3 separate regions of the Homo sapiens genome follow, and all the other regions are linked to region 1. Evidence: promoter capture Hi-C in human tissues and cell types (Jung and others, 2019). All regions are on one chromosome and are shown on one strand. The core of a region is centred on a gene start or on the middle of the fragment in contact, and the rest is flanking DNA. Distances in the headings are between cores, read along the strand shown.

The links. The method cuts DNA at HindIII sites, captures the fragments that hold promoters and counts their contacts. A contact is called where the count stands out against the background at its distance.
Region 2: a contact is called between a fragment that was not itself captured here and the fragment with the promoter of AKAP12 in region 1, in 2 of the 25 tissues and cell types used here (aorta and mesenchymal stem cells).
Region 3: a contact is called between a fragment that was not itself captured here and the fragment with the promoter of AKAP12 in region 1, in 1 of the 25 tissues and cell types used here (mesenchymal stem cells).

What each region holds. Positions count from the first base shown.
Region 1 is chr6:151,238,524-151,241,602 of GRCh38, forward strand. AKAP12 (A-kinase anchoring protein 12) reads left to right here and starts at 1,444. Exons shown (of 5, transcript NM_005100.4): 1 at 1,444-1,536; 2 at 1,861-2,201. The coding sequence starts at 2,040. RefSeq lists enhancers at 1,247-1,756, 1,834-2,411. The HindIII fragment of the contact is 7,486 bases long and covers 1-3,079 here.
Region 2 is chr6:151,176,868-151,179,946 of GRCh38, forward strand. No RefSeq gene overlaps it. Among named protein-coding and RNA genes, the nearest start is that of AKAP12, 62 kb to the right of the region's middle. The HindIII fragment of the contact is 8,350 bases long and covers 1-3,079 here.
Region 3 is chr6:151,301,013-151,304,091 of GRCh38, forward strand. The region is part of intron 2 of AKAP12 (A-kinase anchoring protein 12); the gene reads left to right. Among named protein-coding and RNA genes, the nearest start is that of AKAP12, 63 kb to the left of the region's middle. The HindIII fragment of the contact is 3,419 bases long and covers 1-3,079 here.

The sequences.
Region 1 (3,079 bases), core at 194-2,693:
ATGAGAATAATACTATCTATCCCATGGGGTTATTGTAAAGATTATTATGTAAAGTGCATTGAACAGTGCCTGGTACAGAGTAAGAATTCTAATGTTTCCTAAATAGTCAAAATTTAAGTCAAAATGGGGGAAATGTGTATAAATTCCTAAAACTAAGCATTTTGCAAATATACTGTTTCTTAAGAGATAAACTCCAGAGAAATTGGCCTTCGTGTAGTCCTTTAAATAAAAATAATTAATTCAGAAAACAGGCCCAGTGTGGTGGTTCACACCTATAATCCCAGCACTTTGAGAGGCCAAGGCAGGAGGATCGCTTGAGCTCAGGAGTTCAACACTAGCCTGGGCAACACAGCGAGACCTTGTCTCAAAAAAAGAAAAAGAAAAAAAATTAATTCAGAAAACAAATTTGATGGTGAGTAACTAACCTATGGTTCCCAGGGTACCATTCGATTCATGCAATTCATTAGGCATGAAACATCCTAGTGCTGAACTACTGCTTACACCCTTTCTACAAAATTGTACTAAATCTGAGTATGAGATATTTATCTGGAATTTGGTGTGAATATTCCGAAAGTTTCTTCCTTCTTTCTTTCTTTTTTTTTTTTGACAGAATCTTGCTCTGTCGACTAGGATGGAGTGCAGAGGCACAGTCATAGCTCACTGCAGCCTCGAATTCCTGGGCTGAAGTCATCCTTCTACCCCAGCGTCCCCAGCCTCCTGAGTAGCTAGGACTACAGGTGCACCACTGCGCCTGGCTAATTTTTTTATTTTTTGTAGAGACAAGGTCTCGCTATGTTAACCAGGCTGGTTTCTTCATTCTTAATGGAGATTCAAAGTATTTGTGAAAACTGGGGCACTCGGTTGCTAGTTACAACTGGAATAAATTTTGTCTTTCAGCCCCAAAGCCTTAATGCTTTGCGCCAAGCAATCCAGCTACAAATTTAATTTAGTTCAAATACTTATTGATTGGCTGCCATGCTCATGTAATACATATTATATTCAAGGGTCGGAAATGAAAGGATGCAAGCCACTTGTGCTGGTATTATTTAAAGTCTTCATCTTTTGAGAAAGGCTGACGGCAAAGGAACAGATCTATGCTGTCATGTGTCGGCATCGCGCGGAGCAGAGGTGGCCTGGATGGGTAACTTCCAGCACAGGCCCTCAAAGAAGGACGGGCACATTTCCGGTAACAGCCTCATTTCCCCCCGTTCCCCGGGGGAAGGGGGGCGGCTAGCACTGCTGATGGCATCGCCTGACATCACTTGTTCCGGAGGATAGGAGAGCGTGGGCCTGCGTGGCCCACCTCATCCGTGGCCTGACTGCGTTAACCTCTCGGTTCCCTGCTCTTGCCACGTGAGGTGCCCAAATATGGTCGGACTCAGGAGGAGCCAGGGAGCGCTTGCCTTTCTCCTGCTAATGGGGAGGAGGCTGGAACAAATGTTTGGAGTTAAACACAATCTGCAGGAAAGCAAATGGGGACTCGGACTCGCTCCTGGGCGAGCTGAAAGTCGGCTGCAGCAGAAGCTCCTGCCTTGGGTGATCCATCATTTAATAAACCCCAGAGAATCCAGTGTCCCCGGCAGGCTTTTTGCTCCCCTGCTCTCTTGCCTTCTGAGGCCCTGGGTCGTCCCCGCAGCTCTAGTCGCCCTGTTAGAAACGGGAGGCGCCCGAGGGCCGGGTGGGCGGCTGCCTGGACCTGGGCTGGCGCGTCGCAGCGCCTCTGGTCCCGGCAGCCTGGGGGCAGATGCTGCTGCAGGGCGTGTCTGGGGCTGTGCTCATGTGATGAAGCGAGGGAAAAACCGGGGGGAGGGGGGCGGAGGCTAAGAGGTGGCCTTTTTTTTTTTTTCCTTTTCTTTTAAGGAGTTTGCCGCGAGCGCGTCTCCTTCATTCGCAGGCTGGGCGCGTTCGCAGTCGGCTGGCGGCGAAGGAAGGCGCTCTCGGGACCTCGCGGGCGCGCGTCTTTTGGCTCTTGCCCCTGTCCCTGCGGCTTGGGGAAGGCGTAACCCGGCGGCTAGGCGCGGGAGAAGTGCGGAGGAGCCATGGGCGCCGGGAGCTCCACCGAGCAGCGCAGCCCGGAGCAGCCGCCCGAGGGGAGCTCCACGCCGGCTGAGCCCGAGCCCAGCGGCGGCGGCCCCTCGGCCGAGGCGGCGCCAGACACCACCGCGGACCCCGCCATCGCTGCCTCGGACCCCGCCACCAAGGTACGGGCGTGCCGGGCCACCTGCGCCGGGAGGCGCGGGTCTTTGGGGGTGGGGGTGGGGGTGGGGGGGTCCCTCCGATTTCCGCCGAGAGAACTTCCCAGCCCATCCAGCCGCATCTGCAAACTCAGGAGTGCGAACCCCTCTTTGGAGGCTTTTCAGGGTCTTTCGCGCCGGGGCGGGGCCAGAGCAGCGGCGAGCGCGGCGGGGGGCTTGCATCTTTGTCGCGGGTCTCCAGGGGAGGCGACTGCGCCATGCGCAATAATAAAACCCGCGCCCTGCCCACGGCGGCTGAGCCTTTCTGCGCACTCTTCCGGTGGGAGCCATGCAGCCCGAGGCGGAGGAGCTGCGCGGAGGGGGATCCGTGGAGAATGGACCCCGGGCCGGGCCTCCGGAGCTCCGAGATGCGGAAAGTCAGCTGTGAGGCCAGGACTCGTGGTGGAGCCCGCCGGGGAGCCCAGCCACCCTCGGGTTCCCCGTCGCGTACCGCCCTGGATGCCAGCGGTGCCTGGAGCGAGCGGGTTTGGTACCCAGTCCTCCTGCGGCAGCGGCCCGAGCAGGCACCGCCTTCCCGAGGCAGAGAAAGCCTGGGGTGTAGCTCGCTCAGAGCCAGGAAAAACCTGGGCAGGCGCTGCGTTTCCAGAAGGAATGACAGGTTTCGCAAACCAGCCAGCGCCCTCGCGTTCGCTCAGCGCTTTGCCTGCAGACTCAGTTGGCCAAACACACGCTAGAGTGGCTAGAAGTTCTCAAAGGATGGGGTCAGTGTAACGAGCATTCCGGGTACTCTTCCCTGGACGCAGTGCTGAAACGACTGCATTTTATCGGCTTCAGTCTTCAAGGCTGGAATATTTCTTGTGGGCCAGGACAGCCGCCAAGACTGT
Region 2 (3,079 bases), core at 354-2,853, 61 kb before region 1:
TAATAATAATAATAAATCTGTTGGCTCTTTTGGAGAAATGTTAAGGAGCAGCAGACAACAATTTTATGACTGGGGCTGGTTCTATTATAATTCTGATATTATATATCAGAGTCTCCTACATTCAAGCTGCAATAACTTTCTAAACAGCTTGCTGAAAGTCACCCAGGGAATTATTTGTTGATGTTCCAGAAGAGGGAGATACAAAGGCAAAGGGATTGTTCCCGGAATTTTTCTGAGTAATTAAGTTACAGTTGCTATTTGCAAGTCACTGCAAAGGAAATCTTCCAGTAGATGCTACTTATTCAGCCATGTGTGCAAAACTAGATATTTCTTACATTAACATTGTAATTATATTTGGCATCATTTTTTGTTTTGCTTTAGATGGACAAAGATTAAGTCTTAAGTGTACAAGTCAGAGAAGGAGAAGACACATTTCTGATGCCTTTGAGTAATTCTGATCTGCTAAATTAGACACACAGCCTGGCATAGACCAACCCCAGTCCATTATCACAGACTGAAGACCAAAGAAAGGAATAAATGAAACCTGTAATGTGCTGAGCATTTTACATAAATCATCTTTGGAATTCTCACAATGCAAGGAAGATACCATTATCCCTATCTTAGCAGATAAAGAAAGCAAATCTCAGAGAGCTTTTACTCACTTTTCCAGGACCAGTCAGCTCTTAAGATGTAAAGCCAGGATTCTAGAACTGAATCATCTGATTTCAAAGCCTGAGCAAGGGGGAAGTGGTGCACGCCTGTAGTCCCAGCTACTAAAGAGGCTGAGGTGGGAGGATCCCTTAATCCTAGGAGTTTGAGTCCAGCCTGGGCAACATAGCAAGAACCAATCTCAAGAAAAAAATTAGCAATGCAAGACCATGAGCCCAGCTTCATACTGGTGGTATTTTTGGGGGATAATTAAGCTGTGTAACATGTAGCTTTTGATTTCCTTTTACAACTTCTCTCCTTAACACCTATAGATTTATTATCATCAAAATACAATGTAGTCTGGGCACAGCGGCTCACGCCTATAATCCCAGCACTCTGGGAGGCCGAGGCAGGTGGATCACCTGAGGTCAAGAGTTCGAGACCAGCCTGGCCAACATGGTGAAACCCTGTCTCTACCTGAAAATACAAAAATTAGTCAGGCATGGTGGCAGGCGCCTGTAATCCCAGCTACTCGGTAGGCTGAGGCATGAGAATCACTTGAACCAGGGAGGTGGAGATTGCAGTGAGCCAAGATCATGCCATTGCACTCCAGCCTGGGCGACAGAGCAAGACTCAGTCCCAAAGAAAAGGAAAAACATACAATGTAAAAAGCACAATCCAAGGAGCTGAAAACGCAAGAGAGAACTGCCTACCACCTTTGCTTGCCAGGAATTCACAGACTATTGGGAGAGAGAACACAAATATGAAACAATAAACAACCTATGGGTGGAATTGGGCTGAGCAACCAGGACCAGAAGCTTCTAGTGATGCCCCAATGCCCATTTCCCTTCTTCAGTAAGACAACCCTCCTGCCTCCTTCCACTAGATAAGACTGTAGCCATGTGGAACAGAGACTGTACTTATGGAATCCTTTATGGCAGTTTCATGTAAGTAAATTCTGTCTAGTGGGATGCAAGCAGAAAGGACAAGTGCAGTTTCTGACAGGGAGTCTTAAAGGAAAAGGACAATCCATTCCTCTTCCCTGCCTGTTAGAGCCTTGGCAGCCATCTTGAATCAGGAGGTGAGTTTGGAAGTGGAAGTCGCTCGTGGCAGAACTACCCATGGGAGAATCCCGGGGATCTGACTCTGAGGGGTGCAGCTCCTACCCTGGACTGCCCACCTCCATTCTTTTATGTGAAAGAGAAGTAAACTTCAATCTAACTTAAGCCATTGTTATTTTGGGTTTTTGTCATTGTAAGCAAGTTTAATCCTAACTATTAAAAAGGTACAGTTCTATAAGCACTCGCCACCTCCCCCAAATCCTACCAGGTGACCTTCATTCAGCAAGTGACTTAACCTTCCCCAGGGTGGCTGTGAGAACCCAGTGAGATCAACCCATGAGAGACCAGGAAAAAGCTCGCGGGGTTTTGAGTTGGCCTGTGTGATGCAGTGTGACTGGGGGAAACAAAGGAAGAAAACTAATACCCAGGACTCATCAATTCACAATTTCCTGAAGTGCTTCACGGTCAGCATGTGCAGAATAATTTCTAAAACTGTGTAGCCTTAGTCCCAGGGAGGCTGAGCTGGGAGGATCACCTGAGCCCAGGAGGTCGAGGCTGCAGTGAGCCGTGATCATGCCACTGCACTCCAGCCTGGATGACAGGGTGAGACCCTGTCTCAAAAATTTATTTATTTATTTGTTTGTTTATTTATTTATTTAATTAAATAAAACCATGTAGCACAGACATTAAGTTCTTTGTAGATTCAGAGCTGATAAAATTTGTGTGCTGCAGTAAATGATTAAAGGTTTGATGAGGGAGATGAAGTATGAGTGGGGTGTTAAGAAATGAATCCGATTTGGTATGCAAGTCATGACTCCTAACTACAAGTTATGGAAAATCAACCCTGTTTGGAAAAACAAAAAAAAAGTGGGTGGGGAGGAGGTTGGTGGTTGAATCATGTAATTAAAAAGGCAAGAAGTAAGCTCAGGGAAGGCTGGATGGAGACCAAATGATGTCATTAGGATGCGGTCTCAGCTCTGCTTTCCTGAGTTCATTGCATTTTCATAAGGCAAGGAGTGGTGTCTGGCAGCTGTGGATGTACATCCTATCAGCTCAGCAACCCAGGTGGAAAATACCTTCTTCCTTAGGGCTGCAGAGAAACCCTCAACCTACCTGACTCCCTGTGCCTCTGATTCTGCAGACCTGGGTCATGTTCCCACCCCTGGAGTGGATAGGGGCAGAAGAATGTAGCCTCAGCCCCATCCAAACTGCAAGAATTAAGAGTTCCAAAAGGGTGGTTTTCCAAAAGGAAAAGTGAGGTGCTATTGGCAGGAGAAGGGGAGTTGATGCTGGGAGGAATGTTATTCGAGTGTTATGGCAGAGGAGAGAAAAAGCAAAGAAAGAAAGTCTAGAATGAGTGGAATAACATG
Region 3 (3,079 bases), core at 356-2,855, 63 kb after region 1:
CGGAGTGGAAAAAGTGAAATATACATTTCCTCCTTCTTTCTTGTTTGGTAACAGTTAAGTCCCAGTATTACTTTCCTCCCTGAAATGGGTGGTCCTCGAATCCCATCTGGCTCCAATGAATCCCATCTGGTTCCACCGCCTCCTGTCCCATGTGCCACTATGTTGTGTCTGCATCTTTCAGGGTCTCTCTGGGCAGAGCTGTGTGTAAATCCTGTCTTCTGTGGCCATTTGAGTTGCAGACAGGAGAGACTGATTGAAGTTAAGCAAGGTGCGTGTTTATTAATAAAGAAATGTACCCACAATGTATGAAACCATCAGGTCATAAAATAACACGTGTTCCCCATTATTTTTTAAGTGAATGCTTGTGCCTGTATATATACACACGTAGAAAACACAGAAAAGACTTAAATGAATGTAGGTTTGATTTCCTCTATTTGAGGTGACTTTAACTTATTGATAACTCTCAGAAGTCCGTGAATTTTTAACAACGGTATGACTTATTTAGACGGTTTGGGGATGGAAGAAAAAACAAAAACACTTTTGATTTGGAGTGAAATAAAGGGAATTATCCATCTTTAACAACACGTGGGATTTGCAAAAGTGTGGACATGTCTGAATGTGACAATCTGACTAGGAATGAAGTCCCATTTTGTGCGGATGTTGGTGCCTCATAGGCTCTGAAAGCTCACCTGAGACATCACCCTTGAGGTCAAAGCTTGGGTACCCTGGCGGGACGCAAGCTATTCACATAGTAAAATAGACTCAAAACTCAGGTTCAGTAACGTCACTGTCATAAATCGTTTTCTACCGAAGTTAATAATGTATCTACGGCCTTTCTCAAGTAGGGACAGTTACCCTGTGGTTACTGAAAATTAGTATCTCATAATGTATTCATTATCATACTTAGGATGTAAGGATGTGTAGCATTTGACCTCAGTTTTTAAGGGTCCTTCTTTTTATCATCTAATGTACTTTGCTATGTGTGTGTAACATCTCTTTTTTTTTTCTTTTTTTTTTTTTAAGAGACGGAGTCTCCCTCTGTTGCCCAGGCTGGAGTGCGTGATCTCAGCTCGCTGCAACCTCCGCCTCCCAGGTTCAAGTGATTCTCCTGCCTCAGCTTCCCTAGTAGCTGGGATTATAGGCGCACACCACCACACTTGGCTAATTTTTTGCATTTTTAGTAGAGACGGGGTTTCACCATGTTAGCCAGGATGGTCTCGATCTCCTGCCCTCATGATCTGCCTGCCTCGGCCTCCCAAAGTGCTGGGATTAAAGGCATGAGCCACTGCGCCTGGTGTAACATCTCTTTTTTAAATGATGTTTTTATTTGGAGACGAGGGTCTCTCTATGTTGTCCAGGCTGGCCTCAAACTTTTGGGCTCAAGCAATCCTCCTGCCTCAGTCTCCTAAGTGCTGGGACTACAGCGCACGTCACAGTGCCCGGCTCAGTAACATTTCTAAAAGAGTAGACGGAAATTTGTGCCTGTGTGCTATAGTCTTCATGTTTAAAGAGACTCAGTTTGGCTCCAACTAAAGATACCTTGGATTGGGCAATTCACAGAGGATTATAAGAATTTTTTCAATAATTTTAGGTACTTGGTAGAACCCTAAACTCTATAGAACTTCAGAGTTCTGGTTCCTAAATAAGAGGCACAATTGACCGAAGTTTATTGCATTGAAATTGAGGTATTAAGATGGCTTTTTTATGTTCCCTGTTTAGTTTGCCATATCATGAAACTGTGTATGTCAACAGTTTCTAGGTTTAAGATTCACTGGGTTACCATGTAGCCCACGATAATATGTGATTCCTGCTTTCCTCCCCCAACTTTTCTTCCTGTTACTAATCAAATCTAAGTCCTGTGTACATACTCAATGATATTTAGTTAGAATACTCTGACATTTGGCTGGGCGCAGTGGCTCATGCCTGTAATCCCAGCACTTTGGGAGGCTGAGGCGGGCGGATCAGCTGAGATCAGGAGTTGGAGACCAGCCTGGCCAACACGAAATCCCGTCTCTACTAAAAATACAAAAATTAGCTGGGCGCAGTGGCAGGCACCTGTAATCCCAGCTACTCGGGAGGCTGAGGCAGAAGAATCACTTGAACCCAAAAGGCGGATGTTGCAGTGAGCCAAGATCATGCCATTGGACTACCTGGGGGACAAGAGCGAAAATCCATCTCAAAAATAAAAATAAAAAAAAGAAATACTCTGACATTTTTGCAGATGGGCTTTGTGGAGACACACTGCCCCCTTCTCCATTCCCTACCCCCTGCTTTTGTCTTTAGGTTTCATTTAAAATGCCCATCTTTCATATTTTGGTAAGAGAAGACTTTAAGTGGAAATGTAATCTGAGTATTCTGTTTAATAAATGGACTCAGCATGGGCATTTTGAAGCCAACAATCCCATCTGTAGTGTAAGTATTAAACTACAGTGGTATTATTTCAGGAGGAAGCTCATGCAGTTGAAGGACAGCCTTGCTGGGAGCCGAGAACAGCCAGGTGAAATCAATTTAGCACAACTTAAGGCTTCTGGATTGCGTGTCTTGAACCCACTGTCCCTTCAGCGTTCAGGGTCTAAGTCAGTGGTGAGTCCAGAGTCATTCATTGGCCTGGAAGCAGGATGGAATGATGTCAGATGGAGTGCAGAGTTGAGATTGCTTTGTAGCATGCAGGTCTGTACCAGACCTTTTCCAGACCGGTTCCAGACCTGGAATACCCTTTAAGTCATTTTATAATTGTGTGTAGTAACAGGACCTTCAAAGCATGGCACGTATCTTTGTAATTGTGTGTAGTAACAGGACCTTCAAAACATGGCACCTATCTTTATAATTGTGTGTAGTAACAGGACCTTCAAAACATGGCACCTATCTTTATGTTGAGAGCCTCAAACAGAAAAACGCTGGAAATAGTTGGTGGCAAGAGTTGGCTTCGGGCCATGATGCCCCCATTCCTGAGCTGTGTGACCTGGGGCAAGACAACCCCACCCCACCAGAATTGCTTTGAGTCCCGGTGTCATTATTATAAAATGGAAATAATAGCAGCTGCCTATGTTGGTTTTAAGATAAATGAGATATCTGTATA